Regions from separate parts of the Homo sapiens genome. Here all the other regions are linked to region 1. The links are contacts of gene promoters, found by promoter capture Hi-C in blood cells and fetal thymus (Javierre and others, 2016). All regions are on one chromosome and are shown on one strand. Each heading gives the region's core, a stretch centred on a gene start or on the middle of the fragment in contact. The rest is flanking DNA. Distances are from core to core; before and after follow the strand shown. Region 1 holds the start of MSANTD4 (Myb/SANT DNA binding domain containing 4 with coiled-coils). Region 2 overlaps DCUN1D5 (defective in cullin neddylation 1 domain containing 5). Region 3 overlaps DCUN1D5 (defective in cullin neddylation 1 domain containing 5). Region 4 overlaps DYNC2H1 (dynein cytoplasmic 2 heavy chain 1). Region 5 overlaps PDGFDDN (PDGFD downstream neighbor). Region 6 holds the start of PDGFDDN (PDGFD downstream neighbor).

The links. The method cuts DNA at HindIII sites, captures the fragments that hold promoters and counts their contacts. A CHiCAGO score of 5 or more calls a contact.
Region 2: a contact is called between a fragment that was not itself captured here and the fragment with the promoter of MSANTD4 in region 1, in 6 of 17 cell types (activated CD4 T cells, total B cells, naive CD8 T cells and 3 more). The highest score is 9.7, in activated CD4 T cells.
Region 3: a fragment that was not itself captured here is called in contact with the fragment with the promoter of MSANTD4 in region 1 in 1 of 17 cell types (non-activated CD4 T cells); the score reaches 6.1 in non-activated CD4 T cells.
Region 4: a contact is called between a fragment that was not itself captured here and the fragment with the promoter of MSANTD4 in region 1, in 2 of 17 cell types (total CD8 T cells and naive B cells). The highest score is 6.4, in total CD8 T cells.
Region 5: a contact is called between a fragment that was not itself captured here and the fragment with the promoter of MSANTD4 in region 1, in 2 of 17 cell types (M0 macrophages and M1 macrophages). The highest score is 6.4, in M0 macrophages.
Region 6: a fragment that was not itself captured here is called in contact with the fragment with the promoter of MSANTD4 in region 1 in 1 of 17 cell types (M0 macrophages); the score reaches 6.4 in M0 macrophages.

The regions. Positions count from the first base shown.
Region 1 is chr11:106,020,016-106,023,964 of GRCh38, forward strand. It overlaps MSANTD4 (Myb/SANT DNA binding domain containing 4 with coiled-coils), which reads right to left and starts at 2,225. Exons shown (of 3, transcript NM_032424.3): 1 at 947-2,225. RefSeq lists enhancers at 1,747-1,866, 2,697-2,766 and a silencer at 2,197-2,306. The HindIII fragment of the contact is 3,155 bases long and covers 1,020-3,949 here.
Region 2 is chr11:103,068,489-103,072,437 of GRCh38, forward strand. All of the region lies in intron 4 of DCUN1D5 (defective in cullin neddylation 1 domain containing 5), which reads right to left. Among named protein-coding and RNA genes, the nearest start is that of DCUN1D5, 22 kb to the right of the region's middle. The HindIII fragment of the contact is 1,266 bases long and covers 1,378-2,643 here.
Region 3 is chr11:103,084,486-103,088,434 of GRCh38, forward strand. The region is part of intron 2 of DCUN1D5 (defective in cullin neddylation 1 domain containing 5); the gene reads right to left. Among named protein-coding and RNA genes, the nearest start is that of DCUN1D5, 5.7 kb to the right of the region's middle. The HindIII fragment of the contact is 3,227 bases long and covers 641-3,867 here.
Region 4 is chr11:103,172,597-103,176,545 of GRCh38, forward strand. DYNC2H1 (dynein cytoplasmic 2 heavy chain 1) reads left to right here. Exons shown (of 89, transcript NM_001377.3): 35 at 486-709; 36 at 1,459-1,574; 37 at 3,639-3,838. Among named protein-coding and RNA genes, the nearest start is that of DYNC2H1, 65 kb to the left of the region's middle. The HindIII fragment of the contact is 1,616 bases long and covers 1,254-2,869 here.
Region 5 is chr11:103,885,602-103,889,550 of GRCh38, forward strand. The region is part of intron 3 of PDGFDDN (PDGFD downstream neighbor); the gene reads right to left. Among named protein-coding and RNA genes, the nearest start is that of PDGFDDN, 19 kb to the right of the region's middle. The HindIII fragment of the contact is 849 bases long and covers 1,206-2,054 here.
Region 6 is chr11:103,903,302-103,907,250 of GRCh38, forward strand. It overlaps PDGFDDN (PDGFD downstream neighbor), which reads right to left and starts at 3,569. Exons shown (of 4, transcript XR_947960.3): 1 at 1,379-3,569. PDGFD (platelet derived growth factor D) reads right to left here. Exons shown (of 7, transcript NM_025208.5): 7 at 3,888-3,949. RefSeq lists enhancers at 750-839, 1,260-1,429. The HindIII fragment of the contact is 6,449 bases long and covers 1-3,949 here.

The sequences.
Region 1 (3,949 bases), core at 975-3,474:
AGTAAGCCCACAAATGTCAGCTATTATCCATTGCCCAGTACAGTATCTGAATGTAATTAACAAATATTTCTTCACTGGATGAATAATGCAAATATACAAAAACTACAATAAAGAAATACTAACAAAATACTCTGGATATTCATAAGAAAGACAAATCTTTGATGGGATCAAGGAATGTTTTGAGTCAGAATCAGCATTTGATTTGGGTCTTATAAAACAGACTAATGAGGGACAGAAATAAAAGAAAGAAGTATCAGGAATTAAAGCTGGAAAATTAGGATAGTGCCAAGCAGCAAATCTTACTAAGCGAATTCTGGCTTAATAAGACTATTATTTGCTAAAAATGAACTGAAAGAGACAAATATAACTGTGAAAGTTTTTTGAAATTCAAGCAGGCTACCATTAATATGGAAGAACTGTTACTGTAGTAACATATAAATATATAACCAATATAAGTATATAATAAAAATGATTGAAGTTGTCGAGAGTCCAAATTTATGCAGATATCCACCGTAAGATTTTGCTCTTAGAATCTGAGATCAATTTAGAAATCGCATTGTTGTAAATGTATTGGTACATGGTAGAAATAGCAGTCCTTTTGAAGTACCACTGAGTCAATATATTTTTAAAGTTTGACAGCAGCTGTTGCTATTTGCAGGGCCTATTTTTGACCAACAATTCCTAACTCCATATCTCTAACTTACAAAGTGGTATCCCGTTGTCCTGACTGATCTATTCTGAACTGATGAACTATTTCATTTAATCAAATGGGCTTTAATACATTTTTAACCTGACTGAAATTGATATTGGGATGCACCTTAGATACCCAGTCTTGGCTTAATTGTGTGAAAATCTTCTTCTAAAACCTTGATATTTTCTGATTAAGTGCAAGAAAGTGCCAGCATTGATGCATCTTGAGTTGTTGAAGTTCTGTAGATATGCTTACCTGGATAAAAGCCATTTCCAGAAATGTTTGTCTTCCTGTCCTCTCCTTTATATGCCGGTATCCAAGTAACAGAAGCTTGGGTTTTCTACCATCCATTCATTCCCCAATAATTTCCTCAAAAAATACTTACTGAGCTCCTACTGTGTGAAAGGCACTATTTTTGGTGCTGGGGATATAACACCTCATAAAATGTGAAAATATGTCATTTTAGATGTCAAACACTATCCCTTTTCTATTGCCTGTCATCGCTCTCTTAGCAGAAAGGATTCAACAGCTGCAGTCTCTAAAACTTACAAACCTTCTATGCCCAATCACAGAGAACAGCCATTTTCTAAAATCCCATTTCACAATCGTTCTTCACTAGTTGGAAACAGGAATGAGATGTAGTTCACTTACGTAATCCTTGTGAAGATGATGTACTGCCAATGGCATAATATAACCAGGCAACTTTTTACAAGCACTAAAACTTGAGAATGAAGTTCCTAGATACTTCATGATAAGTCAGAATTAAGAAGTCTGAGAAAAACCAGACGGCAAGTTCCGGATCAAAAAAATTTGAGGGTAAATTAGTTAAGCAGTTCAAGAAGAAAAGCATCACAAATCTACAATATCAAACCCTACCCAAATTCTCTTTAAAGTGTGGCTTTCCCCTCCCCTATATTCTTATAGGGGATTCACTTCCCTGCCAAAAAGTATGTTCTTCTCTAAAACTCGTGGTAGGTGCATAACAAGTATACTTATGGGTCGACGGTTATCAAAGTATCTTTCACCTCCCTCCCGCTGCCTCCTTTGGGACCGTCCAAAAAGAGCCCCTGGGAAGAATCGAGTTAGACTGGGCTCCCGGAAGGCCACCCAGGGGAGCAGGGGCGCGCACCTGCCTCGGCCACAATGATGAGGTTGCTGCTGGTAGGAGTCCCGGTGGGAGTCGGGGCAACCTGGAAGATCTCCTCTCTCTGGGTATTAAATGAGAGTCCCGACTGAGTGCCCAGAAACTTCTGCAGTCTTGTTTCCGTGGCCTGGGCCCTCCCCAGCCTCCCCGGTCAGGCGACAGACGCGCGTGGCACTTCTCCCGAGCGTGCAGTCCCGCTACGTCGCAGCCCTTGGACCAAACCCGGCAGCAAGCGTTGCGCCAATTGCCGCTGACCCCTCCGGGACCCTACCCACTGCGAGGGCACCCACTGGTCACGGAGCCGCCGCTTCCCTGGCCGCCTCCTCCAGCATAGAACCGCTCACCTGCGACCCCGGCGGCACCTCCCCACGGTCGCCCCAAGGGGGGTAGGAAAAAAGATGCTTCATTGATCCCCCGCCCACTAACTGGGCCCGCCCATCTCCCGCCACCCCAATGGCTCATATGGCTGCCGCTCATTTGATGAGTCTCATCCATTGGTTAGAATGGTGTAGCCATTCTGGCTGAGAGCCCGCCCTAGGCCTGGCCTCACAATGGGAATCAAGTCCCAAACCGGTTCCGGGTTAGTGCCCTGGAATTCCGCCCCCTCGTGATTCACCTCCCTGTCTGTGCCCCGTCTGTGGCGCGCAGCTCTGTCAGTCAAGTGGACTCTAGGAAGGGATTGGCCCCTAGAGATCCGCTTGCTGCGCTGTTCCAACTGATTGGGGCACTGGCCGCTGCATCTCCAAACTCGTCTCTTGTCCTTGACCCTCACCTGTTAAAAGGGCAAAGAAGAAGTAGGAAACTTGTGCTGCTCCAGTCGGGTTCTTAGGCCAGCATCACCTTCTCCTCGACCAGCTGCGACCTAATTGGCCTCAGCCATTCCTCTAAGGCTGCCCGTGCCAAAGGTCGCTGGTGACTTCCTTATGGCTAAATCTAGGAGTCACTTCTTAGTCCTTATCATACTATATACTTCCCAGAAGACATTTGAATTTTTTTTTTTTTTTTTTTTTTTTTTTACCATTCTTCACTGTTTCCCCAAATATGTGCTTCTGCTTTCTTCTCTCCCAGTCCTCCTCTATATTCAAGTTTGCAGTTGCTTATTTTCTGCCGTCTCACGTTCAGGTGTTTGTGATTAGTGCACCTTTCTTCCCGCTGCCTCTGTCCAGGCCTCTGTGGACTCACCTGAATTCCATCAGTAGCCTCCTAGCTGGTCTCCCAACATCCTGTCTGCCGGACTGTAGTTCATTCTTCACGTTGTAGCCAAAATGAGCTGCTTAAAGTTTTTTAGTGGAATCTCACCACTGGTGATACAGTACAAACTCCTTATCGAACCTGAAAAATAAGGCACCTACTTTTCCCTCAACCTTCATCTCTCGACATTATACCCACATTTCTTCTTCCTTACCCCATTCCCTTTGCTTCTTTCAGTTCCTGAACTCTACAGTGGCTACTGGGAAGTCAGTTTGCATTGCTGTGTTTCCTCCCTGCTTCTCCGCTATGCCTAGCATTCATTTTTAGAAATTCCTTTCTAAAGGAAGGCTTCCAAAATTATCTCCATTCACCCTCCCTCCACTTCCAAGTATTCCCTTCCCTGTAGGTTTGCCAGATAAAAACAGGACGCTCAGTTAAATTTGAAGTTCAGATAAAAAGCAAATAATTTTTAATCTGTCCAATGGAATATTTGGTATCCATATGTTTATTTGCTAAATTTAAAAAAATAAAAATTTTTGTTTACTAAATCTGCAAGCCTACTTCAGCGAGCTCTCATCACGGCCTTTCCTCTGACAGCACTTCCCACATATTTTATGTGGGTGGGGCTTTTCTTGTTTACTGTTGTGAATAACACAGTGCCTAGAATGTAACAGACAAAAAAGATTTGGTAAATAAATGGTGGAATATTCTGGAGGAATGGTGCATCCTTGCTGGATATTCTTGGAGGAACTCTCCCATAAAATAGGAAGTAATTATGAAATATGCTCTTTAAAATGTAATGATCAGATTGATCTTACAGATTGTTACTTATGACTTTGTCAGTAAGTATAGACATGTTTGTCAAAGAAGCATGTCTATACTTTTGCCAAAGTAGATCAAAAGAAACTTGTAATTTTTGGAAA
Region 2 (3,949 bases), core at 761-3,260, 3.0 Mb before region 1:
ATGGAATACTAAGCAGCCATAAAAAAAGAACACGATCATACATTTTGCGGGAACATGGATGGTGCTAGAGGTCATTATCCTTAGCAAGCTAATGCTGGAAAACCAAATATCACATGTACTCACTTATACGTGGGAGCTAAATGATGTGAACTTATGAACACAAAGAAGGAAACAACAGACACTGGGGTCTACTTGAAGGTGGAGGGTGGGAGAAGAGAGAGGGGCATAAAAGATAACTGTTGAGTACTAGGCTTAATACCTGGGTAATGAAATAATCTGCACAATCAACCCCTCTGACACTACTTTACCTATGTAACAAAGCTTCACATGTACCCCCAAACCTAAAAATTAAAAAAAAAAAAAGATCTTACAGTTCAAAAATACATGCATATTTTTGCTTTCAGTATTTACTTGTATATGACACCTTGACAAGAACTGTTTTGAAGGAGTGACAGGGATAGAAATTTTACTGGCACAGGTTTAAGAGAGAATGAAAAGAGTGGAACTGGAGAAAATAAGTATAGACGAATGCTTTCAAAGAGTTTGATTCTAAAGTGGTGCAGATAAAAGAGGCACTAACTTGAGTGGGATGCAGCCAATGAACTTTTCACACTCACTCTCTCCTAGGTACAACTAAAATCCCTGAACATTATATAGAAAATAAACACAAGACCCTGAAAGGTGGAAACCTGAGGAACTACATGGTGGTGAGTTATCTGGGTTTCTTTTTGCCTAATATATTCCAAACTTGGAGCTGAAGAAGCTAGTAACCAGCAACACCAATGGGGGCAGACAAAAAGCCCCAATAAAACCCTGCCTTTTCTCTAGCCAAAAGACAAAGAAAGGAGGAGCCTCACAAAACAGAAAACTCTTAGAAAACAAACACTCTACTCCAGTTAAAAACCACTGAAAAAACTATGGCCCAACTCCCACCAATGCCAGCAAAGACTGAATGGGGACCTAAAATGTCCACCCTTACCAGGATATAATAAAGCCTCTCTCTCAACTCCTACAATGCTGGTGGAAATCGAAACCACACAGGTAACATGAACTTCTGCTCTTGCCAGGTAGTAACAAGCAGCCAATCCTCTTCTGCCCTAGGTTGATATAGAGGAGGCCTAGTGAAGGGTCAGGGCTTTCACCATCACCCAGTGGTAACAAGGCACTCCTATCCCTTTCAGACAAGAAAGCATCAGTAAAAGCGTAGTGGGAACCCAGAACTCTCATCCCTGCCCAGCAGTCACAAGGGATATCCTTCCTTAGATGTTAATGAATGCAGAGTAGAAAATTCAATTTCTACCTGTACCTGGCAGTAATAAGGTGGCAGCCCTGATTTCTCTTGCCAGAATAGCATTAGAGTAAGCTAGCTAAAACTGAAGCTTTAAATACGATCCAGAGATCCAGAGTTTCATAATATACTACCCAAAATATCCAGGTTTCAATTTAAAAAATCACTTGTCAAACCAAGATCTCAAATGGAATGCAAAAACACAATCAATACTTGCAACCACCAAAATGACAGAGATGTTCAGAATTATCTGACACATTTTAAATTAGCTATCACACAAATGCTTCAACAAGTAATTAAAAACGTAATAGAAAAATGAAAAAATATAAAGTCTCAGCAAAAAAAAAAAAGTCCAAGGACAAAGAAATATAAGATACAAAAAAAGAACCAAATGGAAATTTTTGAACTGTAAAATACAAGGTAGCCTTAAGCCCTAATATATCCATAATTACATGACAGTGAGTAGTCTAAATACACCAATAAGACAGAGTGGATTAAAAAAAGCATGACCCAAACATATGCTGTCTAGAAGAAACTTTAACTTCAAATAGTATAGGCAGGTTGAAAGTGAAACAATGGAAAATAATATCTCACAGAAATATTAAAAGAAAGCAGGAAGTGGCTTTCTACATTAGATGATATTAAAATAGAGCAACTTCAGAGCAAAGAAAATGATCAGAACAGAGAGGATAATCATATTATAATAAAAGGGTCAATCCATCAGAAAGACATAGCAATCCTAAACAATTCTAAGCAATCCTATACACGTTAAACAATAGAGCTGCAAAATGTGTGAAGTAAAAACTAAATGTGTGAAGTAGCACTGAAAAGAGAAATAAATTCATAATTATAGTTGGATATTTCACCACCCCTTTTCCAGCAATTGATAGAAACACTAGATAGAATTCAACGAACACAGAGAATTTAACATCATCAACCAACAGGATCTAGCTGAACTTAGTAGACTACTCCATTCGAAGACAACAGAATACACATTCTTTTCAAGTGCCCACAAAACATAAAACAAGACAGACCAATCCGGAGACATAAACCCCTTAACAGAGTAAAAATAACTGAAATAAAAAAGAATGTGTTCTCTGACAACAATGGAATCAAACTAGAAATCAATAACAGAAAGTTAATGGCAAAATCTCCAAACACTTGGAAACTAAACAGCAAACACCTAAATAATCTATGGGAGAGTTAAGTCTCAAGGGAAAACAGAAAATACATTAAACTAAATGAAAATACAACATATCAAAATGTTGACATACAAATAAAGCAGTACTGAGAAGGAAATTTATAGTGCTAAATACACACATTAGAAAAAAGAAAAAGCCTTAATCAACAATCTAAGCTTGTACCTCTAGAACCCAGAAAAAGAAAGGCAAAATAAACAAACCAAACAGGACAAAGTAAATAAGAGCAGAAACTGCTGAAATTGAAAACAGAAAAATCAATGCAACAAAGCACATTGAAAAGATCAATAAAATTGACAATTCTCTAACAAGACTGACAAAAAAGAGAGAAGACAAAAATTACCCATATCAGGAATGAAATGGGGTATTATTACAGACCCACAGCTATCAAAAGCATAGTAAGGGATACACAATGAACATATACAATGTATGATAGTAAGGGATCACAATGAACAACTCTCTACACACACAAATTTTTCTACACATATAAAGATTTTTATACAGGTATAATCTATATATAATTTTATATACTCTATATCTATATGATCTATAATCTATATATAGATATTTTATATCTATTGATTTATATAGATATAATCTATATCTATGTAAATATTTTATATAGAGATTTTACACAGATTTTTACATAGATATAAAAATTCTACATATGTAACAATTTTTCTACATCAAAACTTGGATGAAATGGACCAATAAGTTCCTTGAAAAACACAAACTACCACAACACATACAATATACAGTAGTCTGAGTAGACCTGTTATTATTAACGAAATTGAACTCAAAATTTTTAAACTTTCAAAAAAGAAACTCCAGGAACAGATGGTTTCACTACAGAATTATACCAAACCTTTAAAGACTTATTCCACATCTCTCTCAAAACATAAAAGATTAAGAAAATTTAAAATATTTAAAAAAAGAAAAATTTATTTAATAAAGCCAGTATTACTTGATACCAAAACCAGGCAAATACAAAAAAAAGCCACATAATTTTATCATTTAATACAGAAAAAGCACTTTAAAAATTTAACATCCATTCATGATAAAACTCAGAAAAAAAAAAATAGAGGGGAGTGTCCTCAACTTCGTAGAGCATAAATAAGTAACTTACAGGTAACATAACAGTGAAAGCCAACGTTTTCTCTCTAAGATGGGGAACAAGGAAAAGATGCCTACTCTTTCCACTCTTATCGACATAGTGGTAGAAGTTCTAGCTCATGTAATAAGTCAAAAAAAAGAAATAGGAGAGGATGTGGAGAAATAGGAATGATTTTACACTGTTGGTGGGACTGTAAACTAGTTCAACCATTGTGGAAGACAGTGTGGTGATTCCTCAAGGATCTAGAACTAGATCTAGATCTAGATCTAGATCTAGAACTAGAACTAGAAATACCATTTGACCCAGCCATCCCATTACTGGGCATATACCCAAAGGATTATAAATCAT
Region 3 (3,949 bases), core at 1,004-3,503, 2.9 Mb before region 1:
ATAAGTACTAACAATGCACTCGTGTTAAAAGGTGAAGGGGGTGATTAATTATAGGGCACTTTCTCTTCCTTTACATATTTGGAGAATTGTTTAAATGAGAATGTGTTAATTTTATAACTTAAAAGGCATACATATACAATAAAGGTGTTAAAATGCATAAATGAGTATGTATTCTTATATATGATTGAAAGAAAACAAAAATCAGATTTGAAAATTTAAGAGGCCCAGGCGCGGTGGCTCATGCCTGTAATCTTGGCACTTTGGGAGGCCGAGGTGGGATTATCACTTGAGCCCAAGAGTTCCAGACAAACCTGCACAACACAGGGAGACCCCATCTCTAGGGAAAAAAAAAATAGCCTTGTGTGGTGGTGCCAGTCTGTGGTCCCAGCTACTCAGGAGACTGAGGTGGGAGCATTGCTTGAGCCCAGGAGTTTGAGGCTGCAATGAGCCATGATCACGCCATTGTACTCCAGCCTGGGAGAGAGCAAGGCCCTGTCTCAAAAAAAAATAAAAAATAAAAAATTAAGGGAAAAGACAAACGGTTTTTTTAAAAGCCACGATGTAAATATATTGTAAATTTTTCTAAAGCATCAAGAAAACATACTTGCTCTCAAAGTTGCCATTAGTGATTCAAAGAGAAAGCTTTAGAGGATGTCTAGAAACATCAGCATAAGCTAGGAGCAGTGGCTCACGCCTGTAATCTCAGCACTTTGGGAGGCCGAGGCAGATGGATTACGAGGTCAGGATTTCAAGACCAGCCTGGCCAAGATGGTGAAACCCTGTCTCTACTAAAACTACAAAAATTAGCCAGACGTGGTGGCAGGTGCCTGTAATCCCAGCTACGCAGGAGGCTGAGGCAGGAGAATCACTTAACCTAGGTGGCAGAGGTTGCAGTGAGCCGAGATTGCGCCACTGCACTCCAGCGTAGGTGACAGAGCGAGACTCTGTCTCAAAAAATATAAAAAATAAAAAAGAAATATCAGTATAGCCCCCCTAGAAACTGGAGGATTACTTGGTGATTACTAATTAAAATTTGGTTAGAAGCAAGTCAAATGAGATTACATAGAGATATAATACCTTATAACTTAGATAAGGTCTGTAAATGTTAACTGACTTTGCCAAAGTGATGTAAATAGTAACAGATCTAAGTCTAAAGCGAGGTCTGTAACTAATGTGCTTTCCCCGGACTGCAAAATGTTAATCCTTCCAATACCATTGCTTCCAATCTTTCTAATAAAACTACTCTCTGGGTAAAACCTCTGGAGCTAAATTTAATTAACTCTTTTGGACAACTAGGTTTCCACTCAATTGAAGAAGCTATAGAAATGATTTTGTTCATACTATGAGTTCACTCTACTCCACCAGCTAGGTACTATATTAGGACTATGCAATTCCAACCTTATTTTTTGACTCTATGAGACTTTAAAACTGCCCTTTCACTTTCCATGTTTTCAATTACCATAGGCCAGTATATTACTGAATCATTAATTTAAATATCACTCAAGAATGAGGTCTTGTGAAAGAACAAAACCAACAGCCTTATCACACATAATACCATAGTAACAAGTTTAGTGATATTTTCAAAACTAAAAGAAAAACACCATCAATTTCCTGATTTCTTTATAACCATAAAGGAATGTTCCTAGCTATATCTGCAAGGCCTAATACCATGCCAGCCATAACAGATGCTTAGGGGGAAAAAAAAAAAATTCTCAGTGACACAGCACCTTCAACATGAGCTACGTAAGAGTCATTAATTTTGGAACACTGTAAAAAACACACAACCAGTAAATCTGATGCTGTAATGCTATTACTGTTTTAATAATAATAACATTTGAGTTCTGACTATATACCAGGTATTGTGCTAAGGGCTTTACATGTATTATTCTCAGTAGGCAAAATTATTGGCTTCATTTTAATACGGACATACCCATTTCAAGACAGAACAGTTACTGTTTATTTGGCAAACAAATGGTTCCTCCCTAATCAGGTCTCTGCACAAAGTGGTCTCCACAGAGAGGCCTTCCCTAATCACTCTATCTGAAAGTCCATCTAACCCTTCTTTCTTCTCTATTCCTGAACCTCACCATATTTATTATCCTTATAACTCCCCACAATCTGTACTTATCTTGCCTACATACCTGTTTACTGACTGTCTTCCTCACCAGAAGGCAAGTCCCCCAAAGGCAGGGATCTTGTCTGACTTGCTCAGCACTATATATCCAGCACTCAGCACAGTGCCTGACTCAAAACAAGTGCTCAATATTTATTGAATGGATGACAGAAATTAACCAAGAGTACCAATATTTTCTTTGCAAAAGTGAAAATTAGCTTAAATAAAAAATAAACATAAAATAATATCTATTATAATAAAATGTTTATAACTATATATAAACATTATAAAATTTAAATAAAAAATACATAAAAGCATAGTAGTTAAAAGCATGGACTTTAGAATCAGAAGGACCTGGGTTTGAATCCTGGCTCTTGTCACTATATGATCTTGGGCAAATTAATTAATCTAAGTCTCAGTTTTCTCATCTATAAAATGAGGGTATGGCCAAGCACAGCAGCTCATGCCTGTAATCCCACCACTCTGGGAAGCTGAGGCAATTAGATCACTTGAGCCCAGGAGTTGGAGACCAGTTTGGGCAACATCGTGAAACCCCATTTCTTTTTTTCTTTTTCTTTTTTTTTTTTTTTGAGGCAGAGTCTCACTCTGTCACCCAGGCTGGAGTGCAGTGGTGTTATCTCGGCTCACTGTGAGCTCCGCCTCCTGGGTTCACGCCATTCTCCTGCCCCAGCCTCCCAAGTAGCTGGGACTACAGGCGCACACCACCACGCCCGGCTAATTGTTTGTGTTTTTGGTAGAGAGAGTGTTTCACCATGTTAACCAGGATGGTCTCGATCTCCTGACCTCGTGATCTGCCTACCTTGGCCTCCCAAAGTGCTGAGATTACAGACGTGAGCCACCACACCCGGCTGAAACCCCATTTCTACAAAAAATTTAAAAAATTAGCCAGGCGTGGTGGCACATGCCTATATTCCCACCTACTAGAAAGGCTGAGGTGGGAGGATGGCCTGAGCCCAGGAGCTCAAGGCTGCAGTGAGCCATGATCACAGCACTGCGCTCCAGCGTGGGCGACACAGTGAGACCCTGTCTCAAAAAATAAAGTCGTAGTGGGAGGTGGTGATAATACTACCTACTTAATAGAACAGTCACAAGAAAAAATAATATACCTGGGACAATTCCTGGAATAATGCAATTATTATGTTGGCTATTAAAAATGCTAATATAGTAAACAAATGTTTAATTAGAATCTTACACTACCTAGGAAAGTTCCTAGTTGAGGCAAATATTTTCTATTTCTATTGTATCTAGTAACCTTTATAAGTGAAATAAGATGGGTGACCTTTTGATTATATATCATTCATACCAGTAAAACTGGCATTTGGGATAATGGGTCAACATTTTAAATGGAGGTCAGTAAGAAATGAATTCCCTTCATTTAAATTGGGTTAGTGGTTGTCTTGGGATGCCAGTAATAGCATTTATTTCTGGTCTAGAAAGAATCTGTTCTGTTACTAAACAATTTTAAAATTGTACTTTGGGATCACTCAGCTGATTCCAACAGTAAAGTTACTGCCCCCCTTTCAAAATAGTCTCACATTCCATACAATTAGCCTAAACTTATACCTCAAGTTCAAAGTATACTACTTTAGACCTTAATGTGGATGAGCACTAAATATAAGGCAATAGCTACATATACACTTCCATTTTAAACAAACATTTTGAGAATGATAGTGATTAAAAGAAGGAGAAAAAAAAGTGAAGCAGGTTAAAAAAAAGGAAAAGGAAAAGAAAAAAGCTTTAAAATCAATAACTCCAAAAAAACAAAACTATTCTAAGGGGAAAAAAATTCCATATATATTTATGAGATAGTATAAG
Region 4 (3,949 bases), core at 812-3,311, 2.8 Mb before region 1:
AGTGCTGTTATCACATTCAGTTCTTCCCTGTCATAATATTTATTACACTATGATTGCCTCTCTGTAATACCAGATAGACTCTGAGCTCCAGAGTGGCTTAAAGTATTATTTAGTTCAGTTGTCTCTGTGTACTTAACAAAGTGTTTAGTACTAAGAAGGCTTTTAGTAAACATATATTTAATGTATAAATAGATAATGAAATTAGTATCTCTTAAACATTCAGCCTCAAAAAACTGATTGTAAATAAACTCTGCAAAGCAGTGTAGGTCTTAAGGAATTTATCATATATTGAGTAAGGAGATGGTTAGTACATTGGAGGTTACCTTTACCTAAGGTATAAGATTTATGTGTAGTAATATGTCACAATAAAATTCTGTTGGCAGCATATTTTATGTTTATAGTTTCAAATATAAACGATGCCTATATGTTAAATATTTTAACTTAATATTTAATATTTAAATTAATATTTTTAATTAATATTTCAGGTAGAAGTAAATTCTAATTCTGGAATTTTTATCACTATGAATCCTGCTGGAAAAGGTTATGGAGGAAGACAAAAACTGCCTGATAATCTTAAACAGCTTTTCAGGCCCGTAGCTATGTCTCATCCAGACAATGAGCTTATTGCAGAAGTTATTCTCTATTCGGAAGGCTTTAAAGACGCTAAAGTATTGAGCAGAAAATTGGTAGCTATTTTCAATCTATCTAGGTGAGTTTTCTTGTTCTAAATATTTTTATATTTTACATTTCTAATGATTGATTTTGGTTATTAGTGATCATTTTCATATTTTCTCAATTCACCTATTGCATGATTTTTATTCTGATGATTTTATTGTACTTATAGTGTAGCTATGAAAGGCTTTAGCATGCACATAAAAATATTGGTTCAAAACTACTTGCTTTTCTTAAATATTATTAATTTGATCAGTTTTTTTTCTTCAAAATGTTTATATTAGAGTGCTTCAGCTAAATGATTCTTACTGAACTAATTTATCAGCTGACCACTCACAAACTACTGTTCTTTGGAAAGAATCCTTCACAATTTTTCTTATGTCTTATTTCTAGTAATAGAAACTGACATTTAGCTTCTTTGGGACAATGTACAATTCTCTTCCATATCACTTAAGAGATAATGGTGAACTAGACAGTGTCAGAGATTGAGAGCAAGATGGATTGATTAAAGGCTTTAGGCATTAGGGTAACAGGTAATTGTCATTTGGTGTCTTCATTAAGATAATTAGCTTGTTCATAAAAGCTTTATCCTACCCTTGAGAACCGTCCATCTTTAACAGCTTACTTGAATGATTATTTTGTGTGGTTGCTTCCCTTATATAAATTAATGGGATATCAACATTCATTTCTATGTGTCAGTGTTATATTCTGTATTTCTTTGGATGTTATGATGAAAGTAATTTCTTCTAGCTATTTGATGTGTTGATTTCCATGTCTCTATTTCAGGGAACTTTTGACACCTCAGCAACATTATGATTGGGGTTTGAGAGCTTTGAAGACAGTTCTGAGAGGAAGTGGAAATCTCCTTAGACAGCTAAACAAAAGTGGCACTACACAGAATGGTATGATTGATTATTCCAAATACATTAACTTATTTTTAAAAACATAAGCGTTAATTTAGAATAGTTTGAGATTTACAGAAAAGTTGTAGATACAATATTAAGGATTACTGTATACCCTGCCCCAATTTCTACTGTTGTTAACATCTTTCATTAGTGTGGTATATTTGTCACAACTAATGAATCAACTTTGATACATTGTTTTTAAACTAAATTTCCTACTTTATTCAGGTTTTCTCCAGTTTTTACCTGACGTCTTATAACTTTTAATGTGTGTTAAATATTAAATAGTTGTAATATGTAAAGTCCACTTGTTCTTTAACTTCAATGTCCATTGGAATCACCCAGTGGCTTGTTAAAACAGATTATTAGACCCCACCCCCAAAGGTCCTGATTCAGTAGGTGTAGAGTAGAGCCTGATAATTTGTCTTGTCTTGAAACAAGAACAGAAACCTTAGAAACACATGTAGGATTTTCTCTTTCTAAAGCTAGTATATTATGATTAGACTAGGTTATAAATGTTTGGAAAGAATACCGCAGAGGTGGAGTGTCTTTCTTACTGCGTCATATCAGTGGGTATATAACAACCATATGACATCACTAGTTATGTTAACCTTCATCACCTGGCTATGGTAGTGTTGCCAGGTTTCTCCAATGTGAAGTTATTTTCTACCCTCCTGGCTTTATTCTTTGGAATCATGTTAATAAATCTAGCTTACTCTCAGAGTGGCAAGGAAAGGATTAAGCTCCACTCCTTGCGGGGTTTGGGGGGGTGGGGTGGGGTGGGGGGTAGTATCTTCATATATTATTTGAAATTCTTCTGTAATGAAGATTTATCTTTTCTGCCTCATTTATGTATTCATTAACTCATTTATTTAGCTCAATACAGACTCATATATATGTGCTATACTTTCCTCATATAAAAAAATGGTTTTTTATTCACATAAAAATAATGATTTCCCCCACCTGTGGAGGTATACGTTCATGAAAGGCTGAATAATCAGTTTCTTCAGGTTGCTATTGAAAACTAAGTTAAAACACTATGAAAGTAGAGACAACATAGAAAAAAGGACCACATGAAATTACCTCTTTGGACTTTAAATGATCAAAGTGTGTCTCTTAAAAATGGCATCTACATTAGCTGTATTATTAGGTTGGCGTATGCCTGGGTAGATATAGTTATTTTGTGAGTGTTTATGTTACTATTTTTTAATTGTCTATATTTGGTGATTTTTAAGAAATATTTAAACCATACCTGTAATAAGTAAAGATGGCTTATGAGTTCAGTGCTTGAAATAAGCTTTAGAGAAGTCCAGACTTTTTATGTGTACTTAAGCATGGAAATATTAAGCAATTATAGAGGAAATGCCAGGCAAATAGTTTCTTTGACTTTATGTATCTTACCAATCAGCAGCTAATATCTGTGAAAATAAGAGTCTGGCAGTGGTATCAGTATTTGCATTTGGCTTAAGAATGGGTTTGTGAACCAAATTTGAACAAGGCTGATCAAAGATTGTTGCGCAGTTTGTTAGTTGTTTATCTTAGGACATAAACTGTGAGACGATATTGGTATATTTGGAGAGGCACCTGAATTTAGAATTAGTTTATCTGGAATTGAATCTTAGCTGTAATATTGCTGTGCCTTTTCTGAAAGTCACTTAAACCTTCAGAGACTTAACATTCTCATGTGTAAAATTGGAATAACAATAGTAATACTTTTTAACCTACTTTATAGGGTTGTTAAAAGGATTACATCATATAATATAAAAGGTGAAGTACTATGCAAATATTAGTGATAATGATTTTTATTATTAATTAAAGTCTTGGTACCCTGTGATCTGAATTCTATGGGAAAGAGTTTATAACTGTACTTAGTGATATTTACTTTTTAGCAGTCAAAAGATATTAAAGTAAGCTTGCCAATTCATGTGATGTAATGTCTTTAAATGTTACTAAATTCTAGTGCATTTAATGATTAATAATGCATATCAAGGCTATAGAATATTTAAAAACTTTTTTCATCATTAAAGTAATAATAAATAATTTTAAAATGAAACTTTTTTCTAGCTAATGAAAGTCATATTGTGGTACAAGCACTGAGGCTTAATACCATGTCAAAGTTTACGTTTACTGATTGCACCCGGTTTGATGCACTGATAAAAGATGTCTTTCCGGGAATTGAATTGAAAGAAGTGGAATATGATGAACTAAGTGCTGCATTAAAGCAGGTCTTTGAAGAGGCCAATTATGAAATTATACCCAATCAGGTAACTGTCAAGAATATTTTATAATAGATTGATCCCTTTTCCTAGTTGATTCCTTATTAACTATCCTTGTCCTTCATCTTTCAACTTATCTTTTATCTTTCAACTTAGATC
Region 5 (3,949 bases), core at 380-2,879, 2.1 Mb before region 1:
GTCACTGATCTATACCAACAAAATTATAAAGGCTTCAAGAGCAGTTCTGTGTACTCGACATATTAACTTCTGTATTTGGCAAATAGTAAGAGACCACGATACTTTAATTCATTGACTGATGCATACTCCTGGTCACGAGTAAGGTTTTCCCAGTGCAGGTCTGTGTTAAACCTTGTTCGGGCTTTGTTCATAGGAATAAATTACTTTGGGTAGCAGTTTACACTGGTTGGGGGAAGCAAATGACTATGTCCAGACCTCGTGCTTGTCATTGTCAAATAATGTTTGTGTGTGTATGATTAGATGAGAGCAAGCATAGGATTCATCAACAATTATTGAAACACCTTCTAAAGTCTCATCTGTTTTAAAATATCTACTTCAACAACATAAAAAGGACTCATTAGTCTACCTCCAAATCTTTCTGATATTCATCAACTTCTTCAACCCCTCCCCCTCGATGAATTTCATGGGGCTGTTATTCACATCCCTTACCACTTCCTAAAGTTCTTGGATCTCCAGCCCTCCTGGTCACTATCTTCCTTTTTCTGGTAGCAGAACTGCTCCCCTCCTCCAGAGTGCTCCTGATCAAGAAGAGTGGGTATGCATCTTCCCTTTAAGAATGGGATCCTCTTGGCGTGGAGCTCTCTCTGGAAATCCCTTAGGCAGATGGGGTCTGGATGTTCTGGAAGTGTTCTTTATCACCTTGGATACCCACTAATATCTTAAACTTGTCTCCTTGAATGGCTCTTGCTACCCTCTCCTACTGGCTGTTCCATCACAGCCCCAGGGCTCACTTACATTTCAAAATAGTTCCCAATATTCACATTTACCATCTGGTCCTAGAAGGTCTCTCCTCAACAAATAGACCCATTTGCAATTAGACTGCAGTCTTATGCTCTCAAAAGCAGTGTCTCCAAGGAGTTCTCAGGGAGAGCTGCAGTACCATACAGCTTTAAAATAATGAAATTCTCCTAAGCCTCCATAATTTCTTTAGAAAATCAAGCCTACATTATGCCACATGTTATAACACTCTAGACTGGCCCCTCATCACCAGGATGCTGTGCCCTGGTATGGTAGTAGAGAGTCCTTCACCTCTTTAGCATCTGTGGTCAGATGCAGCAAAGTACCACATTCCTTTTCACCTGCTCCCCACAGGTTGCAAGAAATATGTACACATTGGCTGCCTGGAACACAAATAGGCATCTCAAAGCTTCCTACAGTTAATACACAAATTAAAATTTTATAATGACCCTGGCTACAGTTATATTTCTCTATTATCACTTGAACCTGCCTTTTTTCCAAAGCAGTTGTATATTTTAGGTTTTGTACTATATTTACAAAGTATGGGGACTTAAGGAAATATGCCCTAAATAAAGCACTATCCGAAAATTTCTTACCTACATTTCTATCCATGATGCTCAGAGAACAGTATTCAGTTTATGAAAACAACAATCTCCTTATGAAAGATAGCACCAGATGCTGCTTAGGCTGCAGAATTTGCAGCTGTGTGTTAGTGTTCACTAGCTCGTGACTGGTTTGTCACTTCTCTATGGCTTTCCCCTCTCCTGGGAGTGTGAGAAGTGGGAGAGCATTGCAGCTGTTTTATCTCCAGCGCTCTGTGGAAGGAACTCAATGACTGCTGCTGCATTCAGAGGTTGCATATCAGCTGCACCGCTGAGCAGCTGGAAATGAAGCTGATGAAAATTTTGGCTATGGTTATTCTACACGTTACGGGTCTTCAAGACCTGAGTCTTTTCAGAAAACATGAGTGGAATACAAATAGTTGACATCACACATACACCTCTTGCAATCTTTCAACACTGCTTTCAAAGCAAAAAAATTCCACTTCACAGGAATATGAAGCTGCCAAGTGTGAAGCCTGGTGTTCTCATTTGCATATCAATCCCAGAATGCTTTTCCAGCCTCAGCCTTTCTGAGCTTGAAGTTTTAGGCAGAATAAAAGAAAAGGCTCAGGTGTCCCTGTACTTTTCGAGTTTTGTGTAAATTGTATCTATGATAGACAAACAAGAGAAGTAGGGATTTTTCCCTTTGTCCCAAGCTTAGAGTGACTTCAAATGAAAAATGAGAGTTTGGAACAAGTAGAAATAGCATCATATTCACTCATCACCATTTGAAGTAACATTTCAGTGGTTGGATTCTAGTTACCTCCAATCTGTTTTTATCTCTCATTTCAGTTGCATACATTATAGATTCAGAGATATTGAGAACTGGAAAGGTCTCTACAGATAATCTAATTTAAAGTGTTCCCCTGTCAATGGGTCACCATCATCTGTGTAATCCTAAGCCAGTTACTGCCACCAGCTCTGCTCTCCAATGAGTATACTGTTAATATTTACCTCCAAAGACAGCTGGAGTGACAGTACAATCAGCAGGGGCTACATCTCACTGACAATGGTCATTGCTCAGTGACCAGGGAGTATTTTTGACCATTCCACCACAACCACCTGCTTCATGAATGTATAGCTTTAGAGCCATGCAATGTCTACATCTTCAAAAAAAATGAAAAGTACAATTTTCTTGATCTTGACTGTTACTTTGAAGGGAAGAAAACTGAGGCCAGAATGAGTAAGGTTTTCTCAAGGTTTTGTGGAAAGTTGGAAGCAGGGTCAAGATGTAAACCTAGGTCTCTGACTCTTAGTTAAGAGTTATTCTGCACTCCACACAAGGTGTGCCAGTCACTGCCTCAGGCCTTGAGACACAGCATTGACCAAGAAAAAATTGAGACTTCTACCTTCAGAGAGCTTATACTCCAGCAGCAAATAAAGACATTAGTTACAAGCAGTCACGATCAGTGGTGAATCACATTATCATAGTTGAAATAAGTTGTGCCTTTTTGTCCTCCAACTTCCAGGTAGGAAAGAAAAAATTCCCCTGCGTTTATTCTTCTTATGGACATCTAGATAAAGTGTCCAGTTAGTGAAATACAATCCTAGTGACTCAAGTGCCAAGACAGACAAGGATTTTTAGGGCATTTAATTGATTGCTTAATTAATGCAGTTGCTTAGGAACCTATTATTTGTCACACACTGTATTAGGCATCAGGAATTCAAAGATAAGAAAGATAAGATCTCTACCTTAGAAGGAACAGAGCACAGTGAGTCACATAAGTGAATGGATACTAAGGATGCCATGTCATGAATGCTGTAGGAAGTAAAGGTTTTTAGAGAATGCTATGACAGCACAAATGAAAGATCAATCCAGAAGGTGAGGGCAGAGAGGACAAAGAAGACTTTGTGAGTTAGTGACATTCAGCTGGACATTGGAAGACATGAAATGGAGTATTGTGTGTGAGCCAGACTACACATCAGAACAAGAGCACAAACTGTGGCTGCATGAACATCATTCATGACTCTCAGTTTTGGTCTGCATTCTACTGTATTAAATCTAATTCTACATATTCCCCAAGCAAGCAACAGATACCAGAGGAATGACCTCTTCTCAAAGACCTACGCCATAGTCTAGCACAGTAGTTAGAGGAGTACACCCTGAAACCAGACATCCTGGGTTTCTAGCTTTGAGTTTTTTTAGTTTTGTGACTTAAAATTTTTGTTTCCTATTTTCCTCATCTTTAAAATGGGCACAGTAAAATAATAAGGTTTGTATTAAGGTTAAATGAATTGATGATATGAAGTACTTAGCTCCTAGCACATACTCAATACATGTTAGCTTTTATTGCTTGGAACCATGGTGAGAATTACTAGTCTTGAATGCTTTTGGCTCCTGTTCACAGAGGTATGTACTGCAATGTCTTCTTTCAGGTGCCTTAAACGAAAAAGCACTATTGTGGAGATCTTGGGGCTGTCAATCTATACTGTTGGGGAAATGGGATAAATTTTCCTTGTTTCTTAAAAACTGCATGCCTCTAGTTCCCTGGGATGGGGCCAGCAGGGATAGGAATGTGTTTTTCCTTTTCCACATTTCTAGTTGTGTT
Region 6 (3,949 bases), core at 776-3,275, 2.1 Mb before region 1:
TATCTCCAATTGGATATATCAAATGTCACTTGGAATTAATACCTCACACTGAATTCTTAATCTATCCTAAATCTCCTTCTCTTTGCATGTCCCCCATCTCAATAAATGGCACCTCTATCTGCACAGTTTGTTATGCCAGAAGCCTTGGAAAAATCCTTGCTATCTTCTATCTTCTTTTGCCTCAGTCTAATATATCCCCAACTCTGATAAATTAAAGATTCAAACTATTTCTTTAATATAGCTAGATTTTTTTTCATTTTTATTGCTACCATTTAATGTCACACTCTCCTTTCACTTTGCTTCTAACATTTATTCAACTTTCTGTTCCTGCTCTAATGTCATCTTCTCACAGAACCCTTCCTTGTCCTCTGATCTGGATTCCACCTTTTACTGTCATCACACATTATGCTTTTGCTTTTCACAAATGTATTGGGTTACATATGTAATTATTTGTTTAGTGTCTAGTCTTCTCTAGCCTCATGTAATGTCTTCTCTAGCTTGATAAAGGCAGGAAATACGTTTGTTTTATTTTCCTGTGAATCTGCTGTATTTAGCACAGGGCTGGACCTTTAGCCCTCAGTCAGTACTTAATACCTTTTCAGAACACATTTTTATGAGCTTTAGAAACTAGTCTTCTTCCCTCTTAATGGTTATGGAGGTCTTTCAGGTTCTGTGTATCTTCTTATGGTTTCAGCTTTGACCCTGAGAATGACTCCCTTTCAATGTTACAAGACCTGGCTCCTCTTCTTGGAGACATGCTTGCAAAATTCACCCCTCCTTCCTGCCTCCCTGGTTTTCCCACAAGAATTCTCTTGAACTCACATGACTTCTTCCTACAGGAGATCTCCAAGCCTGCACCTCCAGCCCATCCAACCACAAAGAACTTTGAAACCTCTTAACCTGTCTTGTCATCTTAGTTCATGCAAATAGCAACCCCTAGAGATTTGTAGTGCACAGCCTGAACAACCACAGGGGCAAACTTCCCTTCCTGTCTCTGAAGTCTCGCTTTATCCTTATTGTCTCACCCCTAGAACTTCAAGGAGCCTCATAACTCATAGCCCAATCCCTACTCTTTCTGTAGACCCATTTTCGAAAATGCAGAATTGCAGAATTGTTCTGCCGGAAGACACCTCCAGAACATCTTACATATCTGAGTGTGTAAATGAGGAAACATAGGTTTAGAAAGTGGCAGGCTAGTCACTACAACCAAGACCTTCTAACTTTCTGTCTGGTGCTCTATGACACATACAGCCCCCACTGTGCTCAGAGGTCCTCATGGAGCTTCCTTTACTAAATGTAAAAGACTAAATTCATTTGCCTACAGTTTCCTTTTCTTTCCTTTCGATCACTTTATATTTTCTGAACTGCCCACACTTACCTTATGCATTTTTGCTGGGAGACCTTTGTTCTTCCTGTTGATCTTACCTAGAATATCTTTCTCTAGTTTTATCCTCTGTTGTGAATCTTGTGTTTCAAGCCTCAAAGCATGTCTGATACATAGCGGGCTTTAATGTATTTGCTGTTGAATGAATGAATGAAACATGTAATTTAGTCAATTTTCCCCATATTGACTGTGGCTAAATTTCTATTGACAGAAGTCAACAAATATCTACCACCATATCCTGAAGTTTGCACCAAAGTGGACAGTACTGAAAAATATGCACCTGATGTGTTTGACTCTCAAAAAGCAGTGATTTCTTAAAGCAGTTGGGAATTTTACCCTATTAATTGCTCACTTGGGTAACCATGCAGTTGATCTCCTCGACTGATCTATCTCCTGTCTTTCCCAAAGCAGATATTGATCCTGATTTTCTCTGATTTGAAGACTGACAAGTAGAGGCAGGTGAGAAAGGAAGCCTGTGGGAGACACAGGGAGAAAGGAAAGTCTAGAAAGACACTAGAAGGCCTGAAGAGGAGAAATTTATACTATGACCTCAACCAGAAACAGGTTAGAGACCTTAGTTCTTAAAAGGGAACTTGTATTGTAGGTATTATTTAAAATGTAAATTGAATCCAAGAATGATTTTAACATTTGGTTTCTGGTCACTAAACCTGGCAATAAGTATAAACAGTTTAAAATAATCACAAAGTCAAATGATTTTGCTAGAAAATGAAGATTTCTTGGTCCACAGCTTGTTGCACTGAGTATATTAACCTATGTTAAGAAGTTAGCTCCACTCTCTTTTAATGTAGTCTGCTAAATAATTTTTAGACATCTCTATAGAAATGAAATTTATTCAAAAAAAGGACACAAATTAGTTTGCAAAATTCAGAAATATAACTGGAAAAGCAAGCATAAAGTCTTACATTAAGTGGTTAGTTGCTTATCCCTTGTTGATGCCTATTTTATTTGAGAGATATCCCAGTTGTGCTATGCTAAGTTTTGAAGGTCTGTGTAGTCTTTAACTTGATCTTTAAAAACAACAGAATTTGAGTGAATGTCAATAAAACCAGTGAATTATAAATATTCTGTCTTCTAGCATGTTTGACTAGGGCTGCCAATAAACAAAATTATATTTCCTAGGACTTCAGGCATGAATACTAATCTATTGAATTTTAATTTAATATTCTATGAGGAACCTAGGAGAGTATCAACAATTTAGACATCTGTTGAGTTATTCTCAGAATAAAACTGGACATGTGAACATTTCAGGAAATGAAATAAAATTCTTAATGTCTTTGTATTAAAATGCAACATATATACATACATATATACACATATATTCACATATATATACATATATATATTACTATTATGACTTTTTACCTAAAAACCCCAGTTACTTGAATTAGCTATTAGGCACAGAATTATTCGACCCTGTCCCCATCCCTCTCCCATGCTCACACACTAGCTAGTATTTCTGATGGTAAAATTAATTCTTGCCACAGAATACAGGTCTTTACTCCCATTCCCCAAATGACCTAAAACCACTAAAATGGCAGAGTTTCATTCAACACTGCAGCTGCTATTTTGTCTCCAGCAGGATGATATAAAGATTAGGCTATAATCAAAAGCAAAAATTCTTGCATGTGCATTGCAGCTAGAAGAGCTCTCTTTATGCTATGTGCCTCTTCACAAATTACAAAGCAAATGATATAGGAGTGTAGCTCCTAAACTGGTCTGTCTGAACTGATAACACTGAATCACTAGTTGGCTGGGGTGTCCACCCAGATGGGAAAAGGAGGTGGATAAAAGGGAAATGAGGTTGTAATGTTGTTGACTTCAGGCCTCAAGGAAGAGACAGCTGTGGATTTTCTTAGGTGAGGAACAATGTCAGAGGAGAACATAATTCATTATAAGACTCATGGGGAAACAGTCAAATGAAGAAGCAACAAAGCAGCAACAAAACCAAACCCAAGTCTTGCCCCACTGTGCAGCTGCAGGACAAAGACAGAACAGAAGCCTGTAATTGGGGAACAAAGTGTTGTTCTTTCGGGCATTATAAAATGAAGCCTTCAGAAATCACTCAATCTTGTCATTCCAAACAGTTTGATGCATTTGTGAAAAAAAGTTTTCCTTTTTTTTTTTTTTGAAAGGAGTCTTGTTCTGCAGCCCAGGCTGGAGTGCAGTGGCGTGATCTCGGCTTACTGCAACCTCTGCCTCCCGGTTCAAGTGATTCTCCTGCCTCAATCTCCTGAGTAGCTGGGACTAAAGGCGCCCACCACCACACCTGGCTCATTTTTGTATTTTTAGTAGAGACAGGGTTTCGCCATGTTGACCAGGATGGTCTCGATCTCCGTGTGATCCACCCCCTCGGCCTCCCCAAGTGCTAGGATTACAGGCTTGAGCCCCCGCGTCCAGCTGGAAGTTTTCTTTTCTTTTTTTTTTTCTTTTTTAGCAGTGTACACCTTTTAAAACTGCAATTGAGTACTAAATAATGGAGTAGTTTTGTTCAAAAGCAATATTTATTTTTCATGAAGATAAGAGGCATATTACATTCGCTATAGA